Regions from separate parts of the Homo sapiens genome. Here all the other regions are linked to region 6. The links are contacts of gene promoters, found by promoter capture Hi-C in blood cells and fetal thymus (Javierre and others, 2016). All regions are on one chromosome and are shown on one strand. Each heading gives the region's core, a stretch centred on a gene start or on the middle of the fragment in contact. The rest is flanking DNA. Distances are from core to core; before and after follow the strand shown.

Region 1 (2,728 bases), core at 93-2,592, 700 kb before region 6:
AAGACTGAGAACAAGGCAGGCTGTCCTCTCAACCACTTTTATTCAACGTTATACTAGAGGTTTTTTAAAAAGAGCTATATCGGTCAGGAGCGGTGGCTCAGCTTGTAATCCCAGCACTTTGGGAGGCCGAGGCAGGCGGATCACTTGAGGTCAGGCGTTTGAGACAAGCCTGGCCAACATGGTAAAACCCTGTCTCTACTAAAGATATAAAAATTAGCTGGGCGAGGTGGCACGTGCCTGTAGTCCCAGCTGCTTGGGAGGCAGAGGCAGGAGAATCGCTGAACCAGCAGCAGAGGTTGCAGTGAGCCGAGATTGTGACACTGCACTCCAACCTGGGCGACAGAGTGAGACTCAGTCTCACAACAACAACAACAACAACAACAAAAACACACACATACACACACACACACAAGAAAACTGACAAGAATAAACAAATTTGGATTCGGAGCAAGTACGGCCACAAACCCAAGCGACTAAAGCCACCAGTTGGTACTGTGAGCTCTTTCTTCATCCATAAAATCGTAGTAGTCCCTTCTCTGCCCACTTCACAGTATCAGTGCTCTGACATGCAAGGGCTTTGCAGAGAAACTGATGGGTGGCTTAATTTGAACAGCTGAAAACATTAGAAATGGAAATGGACAACCCCAGATGCTACGAACTGAATGTGTCCCCCCAACATTCATATTTGAAATCCTAACCCCCAAGGTGATGGTATTAGAAGGTGAGCCCTTTGAAAAGTGATTGGGTCATGAAGGCAGAGGAAGACCTCTCACCTCTTCTGCCACATGAGATGACACTGGGAAGATGGGACCCTCACCAGATGCCAAATCTCCCAGGGCCTTGAACTCGGCCTTTCCAGCCTCCAGAACTGTGAGAAAGATTTGTTTCTAAGCCATCCACTTTGTGATATTTTCATATTATGAAGGGACTAAGACACCAAGCTTGTCAGATTTTTTTTTCTTTTTTGTAGAGACAGGGTCTTACTCTATAACCAGGCTGGAATGCAGTGGCACGATATGGTTCACTGCAGGCTTGGTCTCCTAGATTTAAGCGAGCCTCCCACCTCAGCCTCCTGAATAGCTGGGACTAGAGGCACACATCACCACACCCAGCTAATTTTATTTTTTGTAGAGACAGGGTCTCGGTTGCTCAGGCTGGTCTCAAACACCTGGCCTCAAGCCATTCTCTGGCCTCAGCCTCCCAAAGTGCTGGGATTACAGGCATGAGCCACCGTACCCAGCAAGAGACTTTAAAAGCCTTTTGGGAAGGTAAAAGTGGAACAAACTCTAGTATTTGGAAGCAGGAATACCTGCAATTATACTCCCACCTGCCTCTTAGCAGGTCATGTGGAAGTGGATGTGATTTCATAAGAATCTTATAGAACATTGCATCCAACACCTGGAAAATGGCCCATCAGTTAAGGATGACTTCTTTCTTTTTCTGGCCTGCTCTAGACAGTATTCTTTACATAGAACCTGCCTTAGAATTTAAAAATTAAGGAGGACAGAAAATCATCTGGCTTCCAAAGATGATTATGAAGAATATAAGCAAGAAAATAAGATGGGCCTAGAATTTAAAAGTATAGAATTTATTAGGTACTGAATATAAAAATAAACCATCTAAATAGGGGCCCAGAGAACTCCCTTTATTTCTCTAGGTGTCTCTAGGCCTTTCCACCCCAACCCCGATAAAAACATTTTGCATATATAATGGCTAGCAAAGACTAAAAAGATGGAAAGCTTCCAAAGACAGCAGGCACTCAGCTTAAGGAGGGTGACAACCGGGTAAGATGAGATCTTCCTGGAGGAGCCCACCATTTTCTCCATCGCAACACTGACAAAAAGACACCCTGGCCTTCTGGGCCAGAGGCTGACATTAGGGGGTCCCTGAGCAAGTGATGGGCTGGAACTGCTGGTTGGGAGGCAGACGGCCTACTCCCTCATTGCATCCTCCAACTGCTTCACTATCAAAGCCTCCTTCTGCTCCTGCAGCACATCACAGAACCGACGCATAGCTAGAGGGTTCAAATGGGGACAGAGAGAAATAGTGATTTAGTAGGTTTGCTGGTGGGTCCCAGACATACCCAGGTCATGGTCAACCATAAAAGCCTCTCATTCAGGGATCCTGAACTTCAGCCCTCCCACCTTTGGGATGGATTTCCAAGTCTACATGTTGCATCCCTGATTTCTTTTTGAATATCATTGTTATGTCAGCCTGCGAGACATCTCAATGTCTTGTATCAAAGCCTGTACTCTCGGGCTTATGGCCTTGGCCTAATCAGGATTTCTATTTGCCTCTAGTGTCTCTTCACTCAGCCTATCTTCTATGCTAGCTCAAAAGAATTCTGTAACAAAAACCTTCATGAGAATGAACAATTCACTGCTATATTCCCAGCAGGTAGAACAGCATCTGGCATGTAGTGGAATGCAATAAATAAATGTTCACATGAATGTCCTATTCTCTATAACCTCAGAGGAGAATCTAAACTCTCTAGTATGGCATACAGGGACTTCCATGGTCATCTGCCTATCCATCTCACTTACTAGGCTGCCAGTCCCACAAGGGCAGAGTACTACTTTTTTCGGGTTTTGTTTGTTTGTTTTTGTTTTCTTGAAACAGTCTCACTCTGTCGCCCAGGCTGGAGTGCAGTGGCGCAATCTCAGCTCACTGCAACCTCCACCTCCCAGGTTCAAGCAATTCTCCTGCCTCAGCCCCCCGAGTAGCTGGG
Region 2 (2,700 bases), core at 92-2,591, 510 kb before region 6:
TGGATCACCAGACCCTCTCTCTTTCCCCTCCAGCACACTTTTCCCCTTTAACTATTAAAGCCCTCAAAATCATCTTTGGAGAAAGGCACAGACCACAGACTTTCTGTTATTCCATGTTCTTTTCTTCCAGATGTGTTCTTAACCTTGGCAAAAATAAACCTCTAAATTGATGGAGACCTGTTTCGGATACTTTTTGGCTTACGCTTGTGTTCTTAGAGTTCTCTTTTTCCCTTTGTCAGTAACCCTCTATTATGGTTAATAATTCTTTCTTTCTTTTCTTCTTTTCTTTTCTGTTCTTCTTTTCTTTTCAACAGAGTCTCGCTCTTTTACCCAGGCTGGCAGGCTGGAGTGTGGTGGTGCAATCTCAGCTCACTGCAACCTCCATCACTTGGGTTCAAGTGATTCTCCTGCCTCAGCCCTCCGAGTAGCTGGGATTACAGATGTGCACCACCACGCCCAGCTAATTTTTTCTTTTATTTTTAGTAGAGACAGGATTTTGCTATGTTGGCCAGGCTGGTCTTGAATTCCTGACCTCAAGTGATCCACCCGCCTCGGCCTCTCATGGTGCTAGGATTATAGGCGTGAGCCACCGCGCCCGACCTATTTCTTTCCTGTCCAGATGATTATGTAGCTTCTGTCTCCTGATTGAGTCCTGATGGTTGCAGTGGGAATGTGGCATCAGGAGTTGAAAGCAAAGGCTAACTGCCTGGGCCCCGGGTTGGCCTCTGTACATCACTGATTTGCCTCTGAGTTGGGTCCTTGCTCTCCTAGCCCATCACTTACGTATTGCTTGCTCCTCCTAGTTTGTCCTCATCCAAGACTGCCTTCCTAAAGTAGATGTTGCTGGTTGCTTTGCTACTTTGAAGCCAGCATTTCTCAGCATGTGGTTGGAAGGGTAACTGCATGAGAATCACTAGGGGATGCTGTAAAAATGCACATTCTGGGAGCCCATCAGGATTCTCAGTTAGTAGGTCTGGGGCAGGGCCCAGCAATGTGCATTTTTTTTTTTTTTTTTGAAACATAGTCTCGCTTCGTCGCCCAGGCTGGAGTGCAGTGGCATGGTCTTGGCTCACTGCAACCTCCGCCTCCTGGGTTCAAGCAATTCTCCTGCCTCAGCCTCCTGGCTGCCACACCTGGCTAATTTTTTGTACTTTAGTAGAGACAGGGTTTCACTGTGTCTTGAACTCCTGACCTCAGGTGATCTGCCCGCCTCAGCCTCCCAAAATGTTAGGATTACAGGCGTGAGCCACCCGCACCTGGCAGTAATTTGCATTTTTAACAATGCTCTGTTCCATTTTGCAGGTACCTGCACCATATTCTGTATCCTTTCCCTATGTCTGTTTTCCAGAGGTGATCACTTCCCACTCAACAGTTATCTCATACCCTGGATGGCAAAGCTGATAGATGCTTTAAGTGCTGGTAGCTCTTAACAGTGATTCTGAGTGAGCTACACCCTGTAGCCTATTTTCAGTTGCCGATTTTCACACCACTCTCTTGCCAAGCGTTCCCTGTTTCAATCATGTGCAGCTTGTGGAGTGCCTGCTGCTGTATTCCTGAGAAAATCCAACCCAAGGAAAATAATGGCACATCATGCTAATAGCTCTCAGTGAAGGTGTTGCATAGAGAAATTCCCAGCCTATGTCTCACTGCCAAAGGTTTAGCAGCTCCCAGCTTGAGCAAGGAGGGTGGGAAGGGAATCTGCCAACCCTGCAGCATGTTTGCTATGAGGCTTTCAGCTCTCTGCCAACTTTCAACAACATTGAAGGGTAGAGGACATTTCCCCAGACTCCAGACAGGAACACCTTCTGTTCAATGCCCAGCACGATTGTAGATGCTGCAGGAGGTAAAATCTCCATCCAGTGAACCACAGGGTAAACTGTGTGAGATACAATTAAAAAACAGTGTAATTGGATGTGAAATTATGGAGGGCAGACAAAAATTTGGGGAACAAGAGATCACTAGAGGTTATAGTCATTAGCAAAGTCACTATGGAGTATAGGGAATTATGTCAAGGTTTTAAATTATGTAGCATTCAGACAGCTTGAAGATATTCTGATAGTTACATTATCCCTAAAAGGAGTAGGCAACATTTACACATTCTTATTTCTAAATAATAGCAAATAATAACATTAGTTAACATTTCATGAGCACTTCTTACATGCCAAGTGCTGTTCCAATCACTTACATGCCTACACTGATCTAATTTTTTTTTTTTTTTTTTTTTTTTTTTTTTTTTTTTTGAGACGGAGTCTCGCTCTGTCGCCCAGGCCGGACTGCGGACTGCAGTGGCGCAATCTCGGCTCACTGCAAGCTCCGCTTCCCGGGTTCACGCCATTCTCCTGCCTCAGCCTCCCGAGTAGCTGGGACTACAGGCGCCCGCCACCGCGCCCGGCTAATTTTTTGTATTTTTAGTAGAGACGGGGTTTCACCTTGTTAGCCAGGATGGTCTCGATCTCCTGACCTCATGATCCACTCGCCTCGGCCTCCCAAAGTGCTGGGATTACAGGCGTGAGCCACCGCGCCCGGCCCACTGATCTAATTTTAAGAACCCAGTTACACAGGCATTATTATTATTAGACCCATTTTACAAAGAAGACTGAACCACAATGCCACATGATGCCACCGTGCCACCTCTCTGCAAATACATGCCAGAATGAAAGCCAAATTAGGAAAGATAGGACTGTTCCTAAAATGACATGA
Region 3 (2,797 bases), core at 275-2,774, 730 kb before region 6:
TCCTGGGTTCAAGTGATTCTCCTGCCTCAGCCTCCTGAGTAGCTGGGATTACAGGTGCCTGCCACCACACCCAGCTAATTTTTGTAATTTTAATAGAGATGGGGTTTCACCATGTTGGCCAGGCTGGTCTCGAGCTCCTGACCTCAGGTGATCCACTCACCACAGCCTCCCAAAGTGCTGGGATTACAGACATGAGCCACCATGCCCAGCCTACAATGAGATACTTCTACATACCTTTTTTACCTGATAATACCTAAAAGTTGGCAAGGATGAGGAGCTAATAGAATTTTTATACACTTCTATACATCGGTAGAATCATATTAGGAAACTGGCAGTATTTACTAAAGCTGAGCTTACCCCATTATCTAGCAGGTACATAGTGAAAGGAAATGTGTATGTATGTGTCCCAAAAAGTCATATTCAAGAATGTTCACAGCAGCATTATTCATAATAGTGAAAAGCTATACACCATGGAAATTCTACTTAAAAACATAACCAGGACAGCAATATCTGCCTTGTGATGAAGTCAGGATTAAATGAGAGTGCAAAAGGAAAGCCCACATAGTCATTTACAGTAAGAAAGACCCCCTCTCCCCACCACATACACTGAAAACAAGTAACAATGCTGAAACACAATGTTCAGGCCAGGCGTGATGGCTCAGCCTGTACTCCCAGCACTTTGGTAAGCCGAGGCAAGGGGATCATCTGAGGTCAGCAGTTCATGACCAGCCTGGCCAACATGGTGAAACCCTGTCTCTACTAAAAATAAAAAAATAAAAAAAATAGTGGATCATGAGGTCAGGAGATCAAGACCATCATGGCTAACATGGTGAAACCCCATCTCTACTAAAAAAAAATACAAAATATTAGCCAGGTGTGGTGGCAGGAGCCTGTAGTCCCAGCTACTCGGGGGGCTGAGGCAGGAGAATGGCATGAACCTGGGAGGTGGAGCTTGCAGTGAGCCAAGATCCCGCCACAGCACTCCAGCCTGGGCGACAGAGAGAGACTCTGTCTGAAAAAAAAAAAAATTAGCCGGATGTGGTGGCGGGCACCTGTAGTCCCAGCTACTTGGGAGGCTGAGGATGGAGACTCACTTGAACCCAGGAGACGGAGGTTGCAGTAAGCCAGGATTACACCATTGCACTCCAGCCTGAACAGCAAGAGCAAAACTCCATCTCAAAAAACAAAACAAAACAAAACACAATTTTCATGAGCACATGCATTAGCTGGAACAAAACAAAGGAATGATCAGGCATGGGACTGAGTGACAACTATGATGCTGGCTTTCATCTTGAGGCATTTGCCAAAACAATGATCTCGAGCTTCTATTTTCCCAATCTCCTGGAGGCTGACCAGAGATGAGAAATCTAATAGGAAATTCTTCTCCAATAAAGCCAGGACTCCAAAAAGCTAACTCCACAAAATAAGGCTAAACCAGATTCACATCCTTTCCTCCCTCTTCAGAAGACTGCAAGGAAAGCTGTCTCAAACCTTGGTGTTAAAGGAGGGAAGTTAACCTGAGAAGTTGTAACCAAAAGCTGGCTCTTGCCAGACTAGATTTCCAGGCCAAATTCACAGCAGCTGATGGCAACAACAACAACAAAAAAATCTAAATATTTAGTTTGAAGACTGGCATTGCCTCTAGTTGCCTGGAAGAAATAAACACACAAAAACTCTCTTGAGGAATCTGTCTTTATCTAAGACTTCAAAGAATTCCAACAAATAAATTTCCCCCAAAAATGTACAGCTCACCATAAAAAATCACTAAACTCACAAAGAATCAAGGCATGAGACAGAATAGCAGAAACAAACCAGCAAAGATTTCAGACACTGGAATACTGGAAATAGATACATACAATAATACATACATAGAAAGATGCATAGAGGTATATAAAAATAATTGGCCGGGTATCGTGGTTCCCGCCTGTAATCCCAGCACTTTCGGAGTCTGAGGCAAGTGGACCACTTAAGGCCAGGAGTTTGAGACCAGCCTGGCCAACATGGCAAAACCTCATCTCTACTAAAAATGCCAAAAATTAGCCAGGTGTGGTGGTGCACACCTGTAATCCTACCTACTTTAGAGGCTGAGGCAGGAGAATCGCTTGAACCTGGGAGACAGAGGTTGTACTGAGCTGAGATCATGCCACTGCACTTCACCATTCCAGCCTGGGCAACAGAGTGAGACTCTGTCTCAAAAAATAAACTTATTATTATTATTATGCTTATTACATCTTAAAAAATGAAAAACAAACTTGAGGTATAAAGAATAACTTTTAGAACTTCTACTAATAAAAATATATTTGCTTAAATTTAAAACTCAAATAGATTAAAGCAGATTACATCCAGCTAAAGAAAGAATTATTAAACTGAAAAATAGACCAAAACAAATTACCCTGAATGTAGCACAGAAAGATGAGAAAGAAAATATGAAAAAGAGATTAGGAGACATGAAGACAGAGCAAGTTGATCTATATCATACATTTAATAGGAATTCCAGAGGGAGAGAAGAGGGAGAATGAGGCAGAAGAAATATTTGATGAGAACTTTCCAGAGCTGCTGAAAGAATCCACAGATGCAAGAATCCCAATACCCAAAATAAGATCAGTAAAAAGAAACCATCGAGATATATAATAGTAACACTGTATAACATCAATGATCAGAGTATGTCTTAAAGGCATTGAGACAGAGGAAACAGATCACCTTTGAAGAAGCCACAGACTGACAGCTGACTACTTGACAGGGACAATGGAAGTCAGAAAATAACTATTAACCTGTAATCCTACACCCAGTGAAATTC
Region 4 (2,700 bases), core at 1-2,500, 750 kb before region 6:
GATGAGCCATCCCCACCAAGCTCTGCATAGATTCCACAATCATCAGCAAATAAATGACTGTTGTTGTTTAAAGCTTCTAAGTTTTGGGGTGGTTTGTTATACAGCTATAGATATATAAAACAGCCAATAAGCATTATTGACTGAGATGTAAAGAAAATTTGTAGTCCTCAGCTAAAAATGTAGAGTTCCCATGTAGACCACATTTTAAGATCCTTACCAAACAAGCCTCTCCTATATGATTCCCGGATACTGTTTCGGGGGAGGGCAGAGCCTTGAGTGTGGCTGCATCATCTGCCACATACTTACCATGTTACTGCAACAAGCTATTTTGGCATCCTGCATGTCAAAATACCAATCCACAAAAAGACAGCTGGGCACAGTGGCTCATGCCTATAATCCCAGCACTTTGGGAGGCCAAGGCAGACAGATCACCTGAGATCAGGAGTTCAAGACCAGCCTAGCCAACATGGTGAAACCCTGTCTCTACTAAAAATACAAAAATTAGCCAGGCATGATGGCAGACACCTGTAATCCCAGCTACTTGGGAGGCTGAGGCAAGACAGTCACTTAAACCTGGGAGGCGGAGGTGCAGTGAACCAAGATTGTGCCACTGCACTCCAGCCTGGGCAATAGAGCACGACTCTTTCTCAAAAAATAAAATAAAATAAAAATAAATAAACAAAATGGTATCATTCTACTCACGGATCTTCCAGGAAAGCTATTAATATAATGGGAAGTAACTGAAAAGCTCATAGACCATCTTAGAGTTATCAACCATTTTTGCTTCGGATAAATGGAGCTCTCCCCATCAGTGCCCACATGGTAAACTGCTTCCTGCCTAGCGAGCTGAGTATTGCCAAGCTTGAATGTTGCAATCACTTTCAGTTTTGGGGGTAAAATATGCTAAATGGTCATGAATCATTTCAAGTCATATCTCTCTAAGACCAGAAACTGGAACATAACAAGGAATTTGCCTATCATTGACTAATACATGAAAATTCATACATTTTGAGCTTAAAAGATTATCATCTTTGGAGTATATACATCAGTCACTCAATATATTCTAATTGTTCTATGACAGAAATGTGGCATGACAGCGATTTCACTTTTTCTATCATTCTAACAGTAAGCAGAATATTCCTGCCTGCTCCCATCCCCTACCAGCTGCAGGCCCACCCTATGGTATGGCTTCCTTGCCATTCTGCATATCCCTCCTGGAGTTTGAAGACAGGAAGTTTTGGGACAAATGCAGGCAAGGAGCTGCCCTCCGCTGGCCCATGTTAGAACTTCCCAAGAAGCTCTCAAGGTCTATGTGTATACTTGAATCAGTGGTTCCCCAACACCTGAAGGGTAAGAAGCACAAGAGTTTGTTAAAACAGATTCCTTGGCCCCACCACTGGAGGCTGTTATCAGTAAGTTTAAAATAGGGCCACAGAATATGTCATTTAAAAACAAGCTCCTCAAGTATTTTGTGCCATCTGGTTTTAAACCTTTATTAATATTAGACAAACTACCCTTTAATAGTGTTTTTCAAAACTTTTTTTAAACTAAAATTGACAGTAAGAAATATATGTTATATTGTGACCCAATATAGACAGATATATATATGTGTGTATATGGATATTTTAAATAAAGCTTCAAAAAACAACATTTAAGCTATGTACTGTGAGTACACAGTGTTAGCCACAGAACACGCAATGAACCCTCCATTTTTCTACTCTGTTATTCTATTGCTTTTTAAAAAATTCTGGCCATAACCTACTAGATCAATTATACCACCCAATAATGGGTCCTCCATAGCTTGAAAAATAGCTTCTATGTATGACAAAATTGAGGTTAAGGGAACAAAAACTGTATTCACACATGAGCTTCACAAATCTTTATGAGTTGCAGATTAACTATAAAAAAGACATATCACAACAAAGTAAAACCAAAGATAACAGAAGAAAATAATAAATAAAAGCACAGAGATTAATTAAAAAACAAAATAGAAATGGTCAACAAGGCTAAAAGTTGTTTGTTTAAAAACAGACTAATAAAATTCTGGTAAGATTAATCAAGAATTCAAGGAAAAAGGTGCAAATAAATACCTGAAAAGGGGAACATAACTCTAAATGCTGCATATATTTAAAAGATAAGATGGTATCAATGAATTTATGCCAGTACATTTGAAAACTCAGATAACATGGAAAAATTATTTTAAAATATACTTACCAAAAGCATCTCAAGGAGAAACAGCAACTCTGAGTAGCTCTATAACATTAAAGACACTGAATCAAAAGTTTAAAAATCTTCCTATAAAGAAAATTCCAGGCCCAGAAAATTTTCCAAGTTCTACCAAATATTCAAGAAATAATAATTCCAATTTTCCACAAATTATTCCAGAGTTCAGAAAAAAAAGAGGAAACACTTCAAAGCTCAGTTTAGGAGGCTAGCAAATGCTTCATACCAAAATCTTAGAACACTGGTTCTTGAAGTATGCTTCAGGCATCCCAGGCCCTTTCAAAGGGCTTATACTAGTTTAATACTGACATTTGCTTTATTCACTTCCATTTTCCAGAGGCTACATGACATATGACACTGCAACAGACTGAATGTAGAAGCCGATGGGATAATCCAACTGTGTTTTTTTAAGTTTTTCCAAAAATGATAAAATACATCAATTCACAGACTCAAGATGCTCAACTCAGAACAGAACAT
Region 5 (2,819 bases), core at 139-2,638, 540 kb before region 6:
AGTTTGTAGCTGGAGTACTTTAGGTACACTTTTAATTTCATTAAGAAGACTATTGGGAAGACACATACTCAAAGACCAAGATTTAATAAAATGAATAATGTTTACTACTTCATCAATAGACATTCTTAAATGAAACTGGCATTTTTTAAAGTTTACACTGGAAGCGCATGATGATGACGAACACAATGACTACTAGCAGAGTTTGGTGACAATGGCTTGATTCATGCTAAGGTGCTGGCAGCTTTATCCACCATTACCATCAGTGCAAACCCAACACAGTGAAAATACCATACAGACTTAGTATTATTATGAAAATAGTTTTACTTGTAGATTCCCAAAAAAGGTTTCATGAACCCTCTCCAGGGATCTACAGATTATACTCTAAGAACTGTTACTTTAGGGAACTCCTTGAATGTCTATTGCATTAGTCTGTTCTCATGCTGCTAATAAAGACATACCCAAGACTGGGTAATTTACCAACAAAAAGAGGTTCAATGGACTGACAGTTCCACATAGCTGCGGAGGCCTCACAATCAAGGCAGAAGACAAAGGAGGAGCAAAGTCACATCTTACATGGCAGCAGGCAAGAGCGCATGTGCAGGGAACTCCCATTTATAAAACCATCAGATCTCATGAGACTTATTCACTACCATGAGAACAGTAAGGGGGAAAATGCCCCCATGATTCAATTATCTCCACCTGGCCCTGCCCTTGATACACGGGGATTATTACAATTCAAGGTGAGACTTGCGTGGGGACACAGCCAAACCATATCATGTTATATGTTTCGCAGTGAAGAAACAGACGTTCAGCAAAGGAAGGAATATTATTGTTACTATTATTAAGTATATCCCATGGTTGTCAGGTAAAACTGCCAGGGAAGCTTACATAATCACTCAGCTTTACTCTGATGTGAAAACCATGGTTAAAGATGGAATTCCTTGTTGTGGATACTACATTATAATATTATATTCTAAGCAGAGGATTTTAAAAAATAAACAGCAAAAACAACAAATAGTTGGCTAATGGGACACCTGGGGAGACTCAAGAAGCCTCCAGAAGTTGGAAGTTTCTTTATCTCTTGTTCTCCTTTTTTATTGTGGTAGAAAAACACATAACATGAGATCCACACTCATAAAACAAAAATATTAAATAAACCTTTGTTCAAGAGAATAAATTCCAAAGTGAAATTCCAATAATAATGTCAGCAGGCTGTATTTCCTATTTACTTTACAGCTTTAAATTTATCTTCATAGCGATAAAGATCAGATGCTAGAATTACACGCTTAACAAGAAAAACAAGAATGTAAAGGAGGAAGATGGGCTTTTTTCTCCAATGTTACTGGGAATCTAATTAGCACTTCCCTGACTTGCTCAGGGACTGAATACTGAGATAGCATAAAGTTTGTGTTATGTTTCTAAGTAGGTATTTTTTTTCTGGGTTATTTTTGGTACTGAAACAGTGAGAAAAGGAAGAAAAAAGGGGATAATGAACTAGAGGATTAATTTAGACTCTCCAACCAATACTCTATATTCAGATGCCTCAGAACTGAATGTCTAAATTAAAATTCAGCATTATCTCACTGTTCAGTGAAGACATTTTATCCTTAAAAGACATTTTAGGAAAAGAATACAAAAAATATGAATCACAGAAGTGAAAGGACCTATTCAGTGGATTTCAAACAGTGTTGTATAGAGTTCTAGGTACCTCAGAGGTACCTCTGGGTCTACAGGAGAAGAAAGGAGAGGTCAAGTTGGTGGGACTCCCAGCCAGTCAAGGCTCTGATCTGTTTTATACACTGGGCTCATGTGAGATTTAGTTTGAACAAAAACTAAAACAAGTTTAAAAACCCATGACTGAAATTGCTTATTTTGTACGGGATATTAAGCTTCAGGTAATGACAATTTTTAAACTAAACAAGTACTCCCAACATATATATACATACATTAGTGAATCCACCTTTAAAAAATTCTGAGAGGTCGGGGTGTGGCCGATAATCACAACTATTAAAGGAAGCTGAGGCAGGAGGAGCACTTGAGCCCAGGTGTTCAACACCAGCCTGGGCAACATAACAAGACCCTATATCTAAATTTAAAATGAACATAAATAAAAATCTGAGAAAGGGTAGCTCTTTTTTGTTCAAGACAGTATATAAATGAACTAAATATATCACCAATAAAGGCAAAGTTATGAGCCAGCCAAATCTGAATTAAAGAATTCTAATTTGACCACATTATGTTGTCCAGGCTGGTTATGAACTCCTGGCCTCAAGCAATCCTTCCACCTTGACCTCCCAAAGTGTTGGGATTATAGACATGAGCCACCACACCTGGACTATTTTATTGTTACAGAAAAAAAGATTCTCTAGGTATATTTGTCTAAAATAACAAGATTGGAACCAAAACATGGGGTAGAATTATCAAGAATTTTAATATTCTTCCTGTTTATGTGCAGTTTCTAAATTTTCAATAAGCACATACTACCAACATTTAAAAAAAAGGATTGTCATAAATTATTTTGAAGAGTTGTCAAAATGTTCCCAAAATGTCGGACAATAAGAGGCTACTTTACTCAGCAGATCCTGTGTTTATTCCCACTGGTTCTTAACCAGGGGCAATTTTGCCCCCCCAGATGTTTAACAATGTCTTGAGTTGGTTTTGGTTGTCACAGCTGGGTGAGGGGTGCCACTGACATCTAACAGGTGGAGGTCATGCATACTGGTAAACATCCTACAATGCAAGGGATAGACCCACAAGAAAGAATTATCCAGCCCAAAATGGCAATACTACTGAGGTTGAGAAATCTTGTTTTAAAAGAT
Region 6 (2,789 bases), core at 21-2,520:
ACACGGCAAATCTAAATCTAAACCTCACCTTAAACGTTGGAATGTGTTCCTATCATGATTCATTACACACAATCCAAAGGACCAGTAATTTCCCACCACACTAGTTAAAACGTTTTAGATCAGTGGGCTAAATTGCATGGGGCACACAATTCACTTTCTAAATGTTTGCTAGACACTTCAAGATTGTCCTCAAGTGTTCGAAGTCAGTAAGTTTACCAATATTCTGTAGCGGAACACACACACGCACTCGTTAGGCATCAGCAGCATTTACAAAACGCAGGCAATCATAAAGTTATATAAGAAAAGCAGTCTCGCCTCTGAGGAATTAGTTCAGGCATACAAGAATCCAGGAAATCGCATATCCTCCATGCGAGGCTGGGTCACAAGAACTAGGTAAAGAAACAAAGCAAAGTGCACTGGGAAACGAGGGCAGTAACAGCTGAAAAGATGCAGGCAACGCCACCAGCGGCATCTTCAAGCATTCCTTCTGAAGGGGAGTGTTTCTATGTTGTTTCTAATGAGCCACTGCTGACCTGAGTAACGGTACAAGCTGAAACCAACACAACCAGAAACGAAATCCACCATGTGGTAGACGAGACTAGGGGAGCAGCACGAATGGTCCACAGGCTAGGGGTCCAGAAGCTGTCATACCATGGGACTCGCGCACACCCTGGAGCTGCCACCTGCTTTCTATTTCCTCGGGGAGGGCCGGTGACGCGTGAACCCGAGAGGCACCAAAGGCAGGAATCCTGAAATCTGTGATTTCTAAACCCCGAGCTAAAAAAAGGTCCGTAGGGCCCGTCTCCCGCAGCTGGGCGACTCTTCCCCACGCGGCGCGCGGCCCGCGAGGTGGAAGGGTGAGAACTTCTAGGGGGCCAAACGAGGACCAGGAGACAAGTGGGGAGCGGGAAGTGCCTGCCTGGTCCGAATGCAGGGAGTCCGAGGTCGCGGTGCCACCTCCCTGTGAGGGTAGGCTGGGGGCGGGGCCGCGCGGAGCCCAACAGCCAGGGGCCAAGCAGGGTAATCCCCCCGGGGCGAGGGCGGGCACGGGAGAAGAGGGACGCCCCGGCCGCTACCTGCTGCTGGATTTTCCCGTCCTCCGTGACGACCCAGTGCGTGGTGGCGAAGGCCCCTCGTGCCGCCACACTCAGCAAGGCGGAAAGGCTGAGGAGCCAGCCTGGGCCGGAGCAAGGCGGCAGCTCGTACCGGCCACGAACCCCTACTGCCGCCGCCATCTTGCCCCCCCGGCCGGGCCGCTCACACCGGAAGCGGAAGCTAGTCTCCGGCGCCCGCCATCTTGAAGAGGTCGGCCCTGGAGGAGGAGCAGGAGGAGGAGCCGAGAGGGCGTAGCTCGCTGACTACCAAGTTTCCTCCACCTCGGTTTTGGCGGCCAGGAAGCGCGACCTTCGGCTACTCTCCCAGCTTGGCTTCAGGGATGGAGACCGCTTTTTAGTTATTGTTTTTCTGTGGGTGATACGATCTCGGAGCGTGGGAACCGGAGGGAGACAAAAGCAGTGGCTTAGGTGGCGCTTAAGCAGAAGTGAAAGGACTCAATTTTATTGTTTTTTAAATCTTTGTTTTTTCGTTTTATTTCTGGTAGATAGTTGGGGAACAAAAGGTGTGCTTTCGAACCACCTATGGGAAGAGAGGTGTTGCTTTTATTCTTAAAGTCTCACAATAGTGGAAGCTTCAGAATGGAGACGGTTGTTAGTTTAGGGCACCGCTGTCCAGTAGCACTATAATGCGAGCCACGTGTGGAATGTAAAATATAGAGGGAAGTAACCCTACTAGTACATTTTATTTAACTCAAAGTACACAAAATATTAATTCAATGTGGTCTGTACAAATCATTGAGATAGTTTAGTTTTTTTTTTTTTAACTAAGTCTTGGAAATCGGCATGTTACACTGACAGCTTATCTAGTCATATTTCAGGGGCTTAATACCCGCATGTGGCTAACGTACTGGTCAGCACAGGTCTAAGCTAGAGGTCTAGGTCTGGAGACCAGAAACATTGGCATCACCTGGGAGCTTTTTAGACCTGCACATTCTCGGCTCTTCTCCCTCTCCCCCGCAACCTGCTGAATCAGACTACATTTTAACAATAGCCTCAGGTGACTGGTATACATATTAAAGTTTGAGAACCACTTTCTTCTAGTGAACCAACAGGCAGGCAGGCAGGCGTCAAGCTTGGCTGCCAGCTTCTTGCTAGATATGTCATTTTAGGTCTTTCAAGATTGCCCTCTGTGTGTGTTATTTAAGGTTGGTATGCTTTTGGTTTTCTCCTTGGGAAAAGAAGGATGAGAATATTGTTTAACCACTTCTCTACACAAGTGTATGCAGGAGAGCAGTTGCTAAGTGTTTAAACACCACGCTATAGAAATGTAGAAACAACCACAGCATTGGTGTTTTTTTTTTCTTCATTCCAGGAACAGCTTTTCTTAAAGGCCTGAAGACTGAACATTCATTTCATTAAAAATATATGGCTTATTTGCTTTTTGCCTGGTACTCTGATAGTCTCTGGGTATGGAAATGTAACCATTGGGCAGTGTGCAATATAGTGAGATATTATTGGCAGGTTAACAATTAAAATACAGGATAATGGGGGTGTATGAATGCATATGTACAGGAGAGAGCAACCAACCAGGTGAAAAAAAGGTTTGGAGCTCAGGTGCTGGTTCAGGCAGAATAATAAGTGAAAAGGTGAAGTTGGCCGGGCGCGGTGGCTCACGCCTGTAATCCCAGCACTTTGGGAGGCCGAGGTGGATGGATCACTGAGGTCAGGAGTTCA

What was found. Contacts are between HindIII fragments. The CHiCAGO score rates a contact against its expected background, and 5 or more counts as called.
Region 1: a fragment that was not itself captured here is called in contact with the fragment with the promoter of TTC17 in region 6 in 1 of 17 cell types (monocytes); the score reaches 5.4 in monocytes.
Region 2: a contact is called between a fragment that was not itself captured here and the fragment with the promoter of TTC17 in region 6, in 10 of 17 cell types (monocytes, non-activated CD4 T cells, naive CD4 T cells and 7 more). The highest score is 11.5, in monocytes.
Region 3: a contact is called between a fragment that was not itself captured here and the fragment with the promoter of TTC17 in region 6, in 1 of 17 cell types (monocytes). The highest score is 5.5, in monocytes.
Region 4: a contact is called between a fragment that was not itself captured here and the fragment with the promoter of TTC17 in region 6, in 1 of 17 cell types (naive CD8 T cells). The highest score is 5.7, in naive CD8 T cells.
Region 5: a contact is called between a fragment that was not itself captured here and the fragment with the promoter of TTC17 in region 6, in 8 of 17 cell types (non-activated CD4 T cells, total B cells, naive CD8 T cells and 5 more). The highest score is 10.2, in non-activated CD4 T cells.

Annotation. Positions count from the first base shown.
Region 1 is chr11:44,059,124-44,061,851 of GRCh38, reverse strand. It overlaps ACCSL (1-aminocyclopropane-1-carboxylate synthase homolog (inactive) like), which reads right to left. Exons shown (of 14, transcript NM_001031854.2): 14 at 1,875-2,014. The coding sequence ends at 1,932. Among named protein-coding and RNA genes, the nearest start is that of ACCS, 5.8 kb to the left of the region's middle. The HindIII fragment of the contact is 798 bases long and covers 944-1,741 here.
Region 2 is chr11:43,870,123-43,872,822 of GRCh38, reverse strand. No RefSeq gene overlaps it. Among named protein-coding and RNA genes, the nearest start is that of ALKBH3, 9.4 kb to the left of the region's middle. The HindIII fragment of the contact is 5,336 bases long and covers 1-2,700 here.
Region 3 is chr11:44,085,474-44,088,270 of GRCh38, reverse strand. No RefSeq gene overlaps it. Among named protein-coding and RNA genes, the nearest start is that of EXT2, 8.8 kb to the left of the region's middle. The HindIII fragment of the contact is 9,778 bases long and covers 1-2,797 here.
Region 4 is chr11:44,103,260-44,105,959 of GRCh38, reverse strand. All of the region lies in intron 1 of EXT2 (exostosin glycosyltransferase 2), which reads right to left. Among named protein-coding and RNA genes, the nearest start is that of EXT2, 8.9 kb to the right of the region's middle. The HindIII fragment of the contact is 774 bases long and covers 864-1,637 here.
Region 5 is chr11:43,893,168-43,895,986 of GRCh38, reverse strand. The region is part of intron 7 of ALKBH3 (alkB homolog 3, alpha-ketoglutarate dependent dioxygenase); the gene reads right to left. Among named protein-coding and RNA genes, the nearest start is that of ALKBH3, 14 kb to the right of the region's middle. The HindIII fragment of the contact is 1,006 bases long and covers 886-1,891 here.
Region 6 is chr11:43,357,401-43,360,189 of GRCh38, reverse strand. It overlaps TTC17 (tetratricopeptide repeat domain 17), which reads right to left and starts at 1,270. Exons shown (of 24, transcript NM_018259.6): 1 at 1,077-1,270. The coding sequence starts at 1,235. RefSeq lists a silencer at 932-1,011 and an enhancer at 1,142-1,411. The HindIII fragment of the contact is 2,829 bases long and covers 1-1,689 here.